Linked DNA regions of Homo sapiens: region 2 is linked to region 1. Evidence: promoter capture Hi-C in 16 types of primary human blood cells and fetal thymus (Javierre and others, 2016). All regions are on one chromosome and are shown on one strand. The core of a region is centred on a gene start or on the middle of the fragment in contact, and the rest is flanking DNA. Distances in the headings are between cores, read along the strand shown. Region 1 holds the start of MARK2 (microtubule affinity regulating kinase 2). Region 2 holds the start of FERMT3 (FERM domain containing kindlin 3).

Region 1 (4,105 bases), core at 1,075-3,574:
TTCCCAGTAAGGAGAGAGAAACAGCCGGTAGGCAAGGGAGAGAAAGACTGCGAGACACAGAACATGCTCCTCTGTCTCCAAAGACCCCTGTCCCATGCAGAACCAGCTGCCAAACCCAGTGATGAAATGGAAATCAACCATCCCTCCCTCTCAACCCCTATTTCACCCCCAGAAGCAAATAATCCACAAGTAATAAAAGGGTCAACCCTGCAGAGAAAAACTCTGCCTAGAACTTCTCTTTAGTTCCTAACTGCCCAGGTGACAGAGGGCCAGGGGGTAACAAAATAGAAAAACACAGTAAAAGAAAGGAGGTAAGATTTTTCAAAGAAGAATGTTCACATGCAAGAGAATACAACAACTGCTCTACCGGGCTACAAAGAAAGAAGGGAGTAAGAGGGAAACATAAAGGATGGAAGGAGGGGAAAGAAGGCAAAAAGCACAGCAGCCCCGGGGCAGAAGCACTTCTTTTTCAAGTCAAGTTTTTTTGGCCTAGTAAAGTTCTCCACCAAGAAAGGTATGACAGGCAGGGGACTCTGCACAGAGCAGTCAGCAAAGGACGCTAGAGATGGTGAAAGAAAGGGGAGGTGTGGAAAGTGGACGTCTCTGGGATCAAAAGTGAGATGACACAGAAAGGCTAAGACTTGGGTGAAAAACATAGCAGTGACTGCCAGGATGAGGGGGACCGTGTAGAGTCGTGAGGCTGAGGTGTAGCTCAAGAAACTAGCATGCAAAACACCTGGACTTCCTGGGCATTACAGAGACTTAGCCAATAGGAACAGAATGGATCCAAGCACGGTGTGGGGATACACAGGACATGAAGAAGGCAGGAGACTAATGCGGAGATGAAAGGCAACGCTGATTAAAAGGCACAGTAAGGAAGATGGGGTGAGGGTGGAGAAACAGGAAGGCAACAAGCAAGAAAGAAAATACTCTAAGTGCCAGGCACGGGAGTGAAGACACAGAAAGTCATCATGGTTTGTGTTCCAGCGTACGAAGACAGAAAGGCAAAAACTGTGATGCAGCGAGGTCTGGGAAAGGACTGAGCAACAGGTTGTGTTAATACGGTGGGGCCAAGTGTCTTTGGGTTGGGAGAAAGAGCCCAGTAGAAGGCTGGTAGAACACTCACAGAGAGAAACAAGAGGCCCAGGGACCTAAAAGCCAAACCCGAGGGGAAGAGAACAAGAGGGATCCAAAGACTCTGAAGGGAGTGATGATTGGAACCCCAAACGCAACCTGTGGGAAAACTATGCGCATGACAGCTGTGGGGAAACACGGAAGCGACAAATGCCAGCGCCAGGATCCAGGGAGCTCCTGGAGCAAAGAAGGGAAAGTGATGAGCAAAGAGTAGGCGAAGGATTTGGAAAGGTGATGAGGGTGGAGCTGGTGGGTTGCAAGCAAGAGGGAGAGCACAATTTGGAAAACGAAGAAGCAGGGTAGAAAAAGCTGGGGGAACTGCAAGGGGCCAGGGATCGAGAGCGCAGTCCAGGGCAAGGACCCTGAGGGTGATAACCCAGAGACTGGCAGAACCGGTGCGGGCGGAGGGGAAGCGAGGCAGGAGAGACGAAGGGAGAGGTGGACAACGATCTGTGGCAAATCGCGGGGTGCTGCTATTCGAGGAGCGGGAGGGTGGCTGCTTTAAGCGTGGGTGGAGGAAGACCAGAAAGGCCCCTGAGAGAAAAAGGGAAGAGAAAGGGAAGCTGGGGAGGTGACACGGAAGAGCGCAGGAGGGCGGTGAGGGGAGACGGGGGTTGGCAGAAAGACAAGTGTGCAGCTTGGAGTCAGGACGAGGTGGGTCCCAGGTCAGGACTCGGAAGCGGGATGTGCGGAGCCGGAGCCAGGAGCCGGATGACAGGGCAGCCGAGGCTTGCAGGATGGCAGCAGGGGCACGAGGAGAGCAGAAGAGGGAGGAGGCTCCGCAAGGTGCAAAGGGCCCAGCCAGAGAATTCGGGGAGCCCTCGGGGCTCCTTACCTGCTCCGTGTCCCTCTCGTTCAGCGTGGGTAGGGGGGTCCGAGCGCTGGACATGGCGCCGGTATCTCGGGGGAGGGAACCGAGAAGCTTGGAGGAAGGGAGGGAAGGGAAGGCGCGGAGCCCGGCCGGGCGGGGCTTCTCACAGCAGGAGCACCCGCCGCATGGGCCCCGGCCGGGGGTGCGGGGAGGCCGGGCAGCCGCTCACGCCAGCCCGGGGATGCGCCGCTCGGGCTAGGCCGCGCCGGCTCCGAGCGGCTCCGGACCGCACCCCCCCGACCCCCGGCTGGGCTGTGCCGCCTTTCGGCCGGGCCGCGCCGCTCCGCCTACTCTCTGCCGCCGCAGCCGGCCGCCTGCCTCGCTCCTCCCCTGCCCTCAGCGGCACTGCTCCGCGCCCGGCACACAGGCAGCCGCCGCCGGACCTGCTGCTCCCAACATGGCCGCCACCACCGCCGGCCCTCGGCTCTTTTCGCCGGCAGCAGCCGGAAACATCCGAAGCGGCTAGAAACGGGAGGTGGGGCGCGCCTTCTCCTCCCGGCCACAGACTACGGGTGAATTCCGGAAACAGCCGAAGAAGGTAAACCCCGGGGACGCGCTCTCCTCCTCGATTCCGAAGACGAAGCTTCGGCTCTGTTTACGGAAATCCACGAAGCGACCCCGGGTGCCTACCCCCCGCCCCCGTCCACGGCCATCCAGCCACGCCCACCGGCCTTTCCCCGCCCACTTCAAGGGGGCTTTCGGCAGTTTCCGGAAATACCCGAAGCTGCTCCGCGTGCTGAGCCGGCCACGCCCCCTCCCACAGCCCTGCCGAGGGCGGTCGTCGGCCATTTCCGGCAACACCCGAGGCCCTCCGAGCACCCGGTCGTTTCCCCGGGTGGCTCTCGGAGTCTGATTCGCTTCGTGTCTTTCCGTCAGTTTTCGGGCATTTTCAAACCTTGAACAGGAAGCGTGGGTCACCTGTCTGTGCTTGTGATTTGACTAAATACAAAACAAGATTGTTAGCCGTCCCTGTGATTGGCATCCTCTGGTTCTATAGCAGCTTCCTGTCTGCATTTCTGTCCATCTGTCGGTCAGCTCATAAAATTCATCTTCTTTTTATCATCTAGCCTATCAATATACCTGTCAAATGCAGCATCAGTCTATTGCCTGTCTGCCACCGTCTATCTTGGCTTCTGTGGATTCATCCGTGCATTCCCGCATCTAGTCCGCAGGGCTCGGCAAGGCCCCAGGCAGGCCCAGGGCAGCGTCCTCTGCACCGGATGCGGGAGCGTCCAGGGCCCTGCATTTCAGCCCCAGCTCTGCCAAGTGCCAATGCTGCGTGATCTTGGAAAAATCACATAACATCACTGAGTTTAGGCTCCTCTTTCCTTTGCCTTTGCTCCTGCGTTGACATTCAAAATGACATTTCTGAATTCCAGTTACCTTTTAAAATGCCTCTGCAAGATAAGGCATTTAAAGTTTCTTTTCTTTCCTCCTCTGGGCCTCATTTTCCCCATCAGTAAAGTGAAGCCATTGGATTCATGAACTCGGAGGTCCTTCTCAGCTTTGGAGAGCCCTTGACTAACAGGAAGTCTGTATGGCAACTGCAGTCCATTCCTCACTTCCCCTTACACTGCGTTACCAAGGACAGGGAGTATCCTGGGCTGATTTCCCCAGCGCCAAGCTGTCCTCACCCATAGTACCTGGAACACGTTGGAACCACACCCTCCCATCAGTGGCTTAAGGTGGGCAGGAGGCAGAGGCCCCGCAGGAGTCAGAAACCAGACTCAGGCAACAGGTTCCCAAAGGTACAGGAGCAGAGAGGCTCCAGGAGTTATTGGGAAAACTGCTGATTGGACCCCTGCTACTTGACCTCCAACTCCCAGCTACAGCATCTTGAGCCAGCCTTCATCCCATCAATCAGAGAAATAGGCATCTGAGCAGATGTAATTACCAGGGTATGAAAGTACTTCCTAAGGCAACAGGTATCACTACACTCTTAGTAAATCCTGGGACTTCAGCACTGCTCCCCATGCCCCATACCAGCTCTATTCAGGCACCCAACCGTTGAGGAAGAAGGTGAAGGCACACCCATGAAGGTGAGGGAAAGAGAGAAGAGGAGGACAGAGAACACCTCACTCCCCAACCCAAATTCGATCC
Region 2 (4,105 bases), core at 1,166-3,665, 370 kb before region 1:
AGGGCTGGGGGACACGGACTCGCGCCAAAGGCCCAGGCATCCTCCCTTTCTCTTCTAGCCACCACATGTAATCAATGCCAATCCCACCTCTAAAATCCACCCTCCTCTCCATCCTCCCTGCCCGGCCTTAGGAGGCCCTGGTGTCTCTAACCAGGACCACAGCCTCCTCAGGGGCCTGCCGCCACCAGCCTTTCGCCTTGCTGCTGACCTTAGCAGGACAGCCTCCTGCTGAGAACCCTTCGGTGGCCACCTTCCCCTCCAGAAGAAAGTCTAGACCCCTTCTGGAGGCCTTCGGGGCCATGCAGAGCTGGCCAGGCACCAGCCAGCCTCATTTCTGGTCACGCTCCCAGCATCCTCACCAGCCGAGAGCCCTAATTCACAGCCCTCCGAGTCCCAGCGCCACCACCTTGCTCCTCCCTGCTGAGGCCACCTCTCAGGACTTCTCCTGGGGTTATCCCCATCCTGGGCTCGGGGCAGCCCCCTCCTCTGGCTCCAGGCCCCCATGATAGCGCCCTCTGTGCGGCAGCCGGCACGCAGCCCCCATGGGTCAGTCTCACCCGCTGCTGCTCCAGGAGGCCAGGGACTGGCCCGGGGCGGCCAGGCTGAGCATCAGTAGACAGAGCTGATGTGCTTAGGAGTGACAGTATCCCCACCACAGGGAACACAGAGCTAAAGGAACTTGCCCTGGGGTGCCCAGCAGCGGGTAGAGCAGCGGGGTCTGTCTGACTCCAGGTTAAGGCCTCCTGCGTTACCCTCATGCCGTGCCCTGGGGCCACCCAGGTCTTCACCACCCTCTCTCTGTTCCTCACTTCTATTCTCACAGCTGCTCCGGGCCCTGCCCCTGGCAGCTCCCCTCACAGCCTCAGTCTTGTGGCCGGGCCGTTCTGGACCCTATCCTCTCCACAGTCGGACTGACCTCCTCCTGTGCTGCACATGGTGGCCTGGCGGGGTCTGAGGAAGCCTCCCCACCATCACCCACCCCCCACCCACTGGCAGCCCAGGCCCAGGCTCTTGGCCGGGACTGTGGTGGGCCTGTCTTCCGGCTCTGCCTATCGGGGTCTTCCTGCTGCTCTCTCAGGAAGGGGTAGCCCCCACCCCCGGCAGGGAAGGAAGATGAGGAGCCCCCGTGTCACTAGCCCCGTGGTCCTCCATGACTGATACCACAGCTGCTCTGCTGTAACTTCCTGTGGGGGCAGGGCCTTCCCACCCAGGCTGGGCCTGTCACCAACCTGCTCAAAGCTTCCGCCAAGGGGAGGGAGCGTGGGGGCAGGCCCCTGGGTCACCTAGACCCCCTCAGACCTCAGCAATGTGACTTCAGCCTCGGCCCAGACAAGACCACTCCTTCTGCCCCTATTGGTGGCTGAATGGAGGATTGTGGCTGCGTCTGATCCTTAGCAGACCAGCTGCAGCAGAAGGGAGGGAGGGAAGAGGGTGGGAGGGAGAGGAAGTTGGGGAAATGTCTTTTTTGGAACCAAATGATTAAGCTAATGCCTGAGTCACCGTGACACCATTATCGGGAGCTGAGCAGCAGGGATGGCCCGGAAGTGCCCAGAGACACCCGTGGCGGCCGCCCATGGTGCCGAGTTCAGCAAGCGGGCAGCGGACACTCACTGATCTGCTCCACAATCTTCAGGAGCACCCCGCCGATGTGCGACTCCCCAGTGACCCGCAGGGTGACCGACTCGGCCTCTGGGTCCTCCTCTCCCACAAACACCCGCAGCTCCCATGACGAGTCGATGTAGTCCCCGGAGGCTGTCTTCATCCCCGCCATGGCTGCGGCTGCTGCTACAGAGAGTGTGGAAGGAGGCAAGGTGGGCAGGCCCTGGTAGGCCTCCGGGTTTGGGCAGAAGAGCTCTGTGATGCCCTGGACACACCCAGAGGAAAGCCGCTCATGAAGGAGGGCGGGAGTGAGCACCCAGGCCAGCACGCCCGTGGTACCCTCAGACTCTCTCTCCAGCGCTGGCGCTTGAGCCGCGAGGGCCCTCAGAGACCATGTAGTCCAATCCGCTCCCATCCTACAGGCGGGCAGACTGAGGCCGGGTAAGAAGGGGCTCACTCAGGACCACCGTGCTCAATGCCAGCCCACAGCTCACTCCCAGACCCTCAGGGGCAGCTGCCCACTCTGGCCATGGCTTCGTACCCAGGCCAGGAAGTAGTTCCGATCCTGGCCCACAGCTCAGATGCCAACATCACAAACCAGCCAAAGCCTCTCCGGGGAGGTGGAAAGTTCAGGCTGCCGCATGGCGAGAGGCAGGCTGGGCAGAGGCTGCAGGAGGATAAGGAAGAGAAGGGCCCAGGGTCCCAGTGAGGCCTGAGCTTACCTTTCCTGGCAAGGGCTGGGGGCTGCAGGTGGGTCTCGGGCTACACCCCTGTGGGCCGTGGGCTTCCTGCCCTCCTTTCTCTTTGGAGCTTCCTTCAGGGCAGCCCTTGCTTGTGCCTTATCACGAGCAGGGCGGGTTCAGCCCCTCCCCAGGGCGGGCTGGCGCTGGGTGCAGGAAGCACACTGCCAGCCCACAGAGGGTTCCAGGGGCCCCCCCACCTTTGTCCCCAGAGAGCACAGGAAGCTAGGGAGAGCGGGGCTTAGCGACTCAACACCATAAAAACGCCCCCTTCCTCATTTGGAGGGAAGCTCAGTGCAAACTCAACAAGTCCCCCGGCTGTGTGTGTTCAGGGCTAGGTCCACTTTTGTGGGAAGTGTCTGCCATCCTCAGCCTGTCACATGAGGTGGGGACCTTGGGCTTTGAAACATCACTGGGCTGCCGGAGGGAGAGCCCAGGAGTCGACAGAGTGTATCCAGGTTATTTGGGACTCACAGGTTAAATCGGCTCCAGCCTGGCTATCCCTATCAACCAAGGATCCCTCAAGGCCCCAGAGGGAAACAAGTCCATTTTGCAGTTTTTCCTAGCTCCGCGTAGGGCTACCTTCAAACTCATGAACTCAGACCTGCCAGGTGAACAAGTGAACAGTACTTGGCCCAGACCATCCACAACCTCCCGGGCCCTCAGGTCACCCAGCTCCAAACACGACCCCTCCACTGTGCTCCACTTGGATGAGCCTCCCCGAGTCCCCACGAGGCTCACTCCCATCAAGTCCCTGCTTAGGTGACACCTCAGGGGTCTCTGGTGGTCTATACCCTCCTGCTCATCACCTGCCCTAGGATGTGGACTTCAGTAGAGCAAGGCACGTCCGCCACCAGCTCTGCGCAGGACAGCGGCCTTTCCAGTGAACACACTGGGGTTGGAGCATGCAGGGTGGGCAAGCCTGGGGGCGGCAGAGTCCTGCCAATGGGGGAGGCTACCTGAGCATCGCCACTCAGATGGGGAAGGGGGCGGCCTGCCGGGGATTCCCAGGGGAAAAGAAAGCTGATGAAACTAACAGCAGGAAGTCCAGCCAGCTGCTAGTCTCAGCGCCTTCCTAGCCCAGAAAGCAGCACTCTTGGAGCAAATGAGGAAGTTTTACTCCTGCCCCAAAGGCCTCCCCAGTCCAGGAAGAGAGCTTTAGAAAACGCAGCTTGTTGCAACCATGGAAAAGTGTAATTAAAGCTTAGCACCCTAAGTTCTCAGGTAAGAGCCGTGCATTAAAACCATCACCCAGGCCGGGCGCGGTGGCTCACGCCTGTTAACCCCAGCACTTTGGGAAGTCCAGGCGGGTGGATCACGAGGTCAGGAGATTGAGACCATCCTGGCTAACACGGTGAAACCCCGTCTCTACTAAAAATACAAACAAACAAACAAACAAAAAATTAGCCGGGCGTGGTGGCGGGCGCCTGTAGTCCCAGCTACTCGGGAGACTGAGGCAGGAGAATGGCGTGAACCCGGGAGGCAGAGCTTGCAGTGAGCTGGATCACGCCACTGCACTCCAGCCTGGGCGACAGAGAGAGACACCATCTCAAAAAATACAAACAAAAAAAACCCATCACCCAGTGGGGTGCAGTGGCTCATGCCTGTAATCCCAGCACTTTGGGAGGTTGAGGCGGGTGGATCACTTGAGGTCAGGAGTTCGAGACTAGCCTGGCCAATATGGCGAAACACCTGTCTCCACTAAAATATAATAATTAGCTGGGTGTGGTAGCAGGCTCCTGTAATCCCAGCTACTGGGGAGGCTG

The links. Contacts are between HindIII fragments. The CHiCAGO score rates a contact against its expected background, and 5 or more counts as called.
Region 2: a contact is called between the fragment with the promoter of FERMT3 here and a fragment that was not itself captured in region 1, in 3 of 17 cell types (erythroblasts, total CD8 T cells and fetal thymus). The highest score is 6.0, in erythroblasts.

What each region holds. Positions count from the first base shown.
Region 1 is chr11:63,837,425-63,841,529 of GRCh38, reverse strand. MARK2 (microtubule affinity regulating kinase 2) reads right to left here and starts at 2,420. Exons shown (of 19, transcript NM_001039469.3): 1 at 1,970-2,420. The coding sequence starts at 2,023. RefSeq lists a silencer at 2,086-2,325 and enhancers at 2,336-2,485, 2,746-3,734. The HindIII fragment of the contact is 532 bases long and covers 2,059-2,590 here.
Region 2 is chr11:64,205,031-64,209,135 of GRCh38, reverse strand. FERMT3 (FERM domain containing kindlin 3) reads right to left here and starts at 2,415. Exons shown (of 15, transcript NM_031471.6): 1 at 2,322-2,415; 2 at 1,612-1,785. The coding sequence starts at 1,771. RefSeq lists enhancers at 1,767-1,846, 2,167-2,246, 2,681-3,243, 3,147-3,406, 3,244-3,806 and 2 more. The HindIII fragment of the contact is 2,303 bases long and covers 1,242-3,544 here.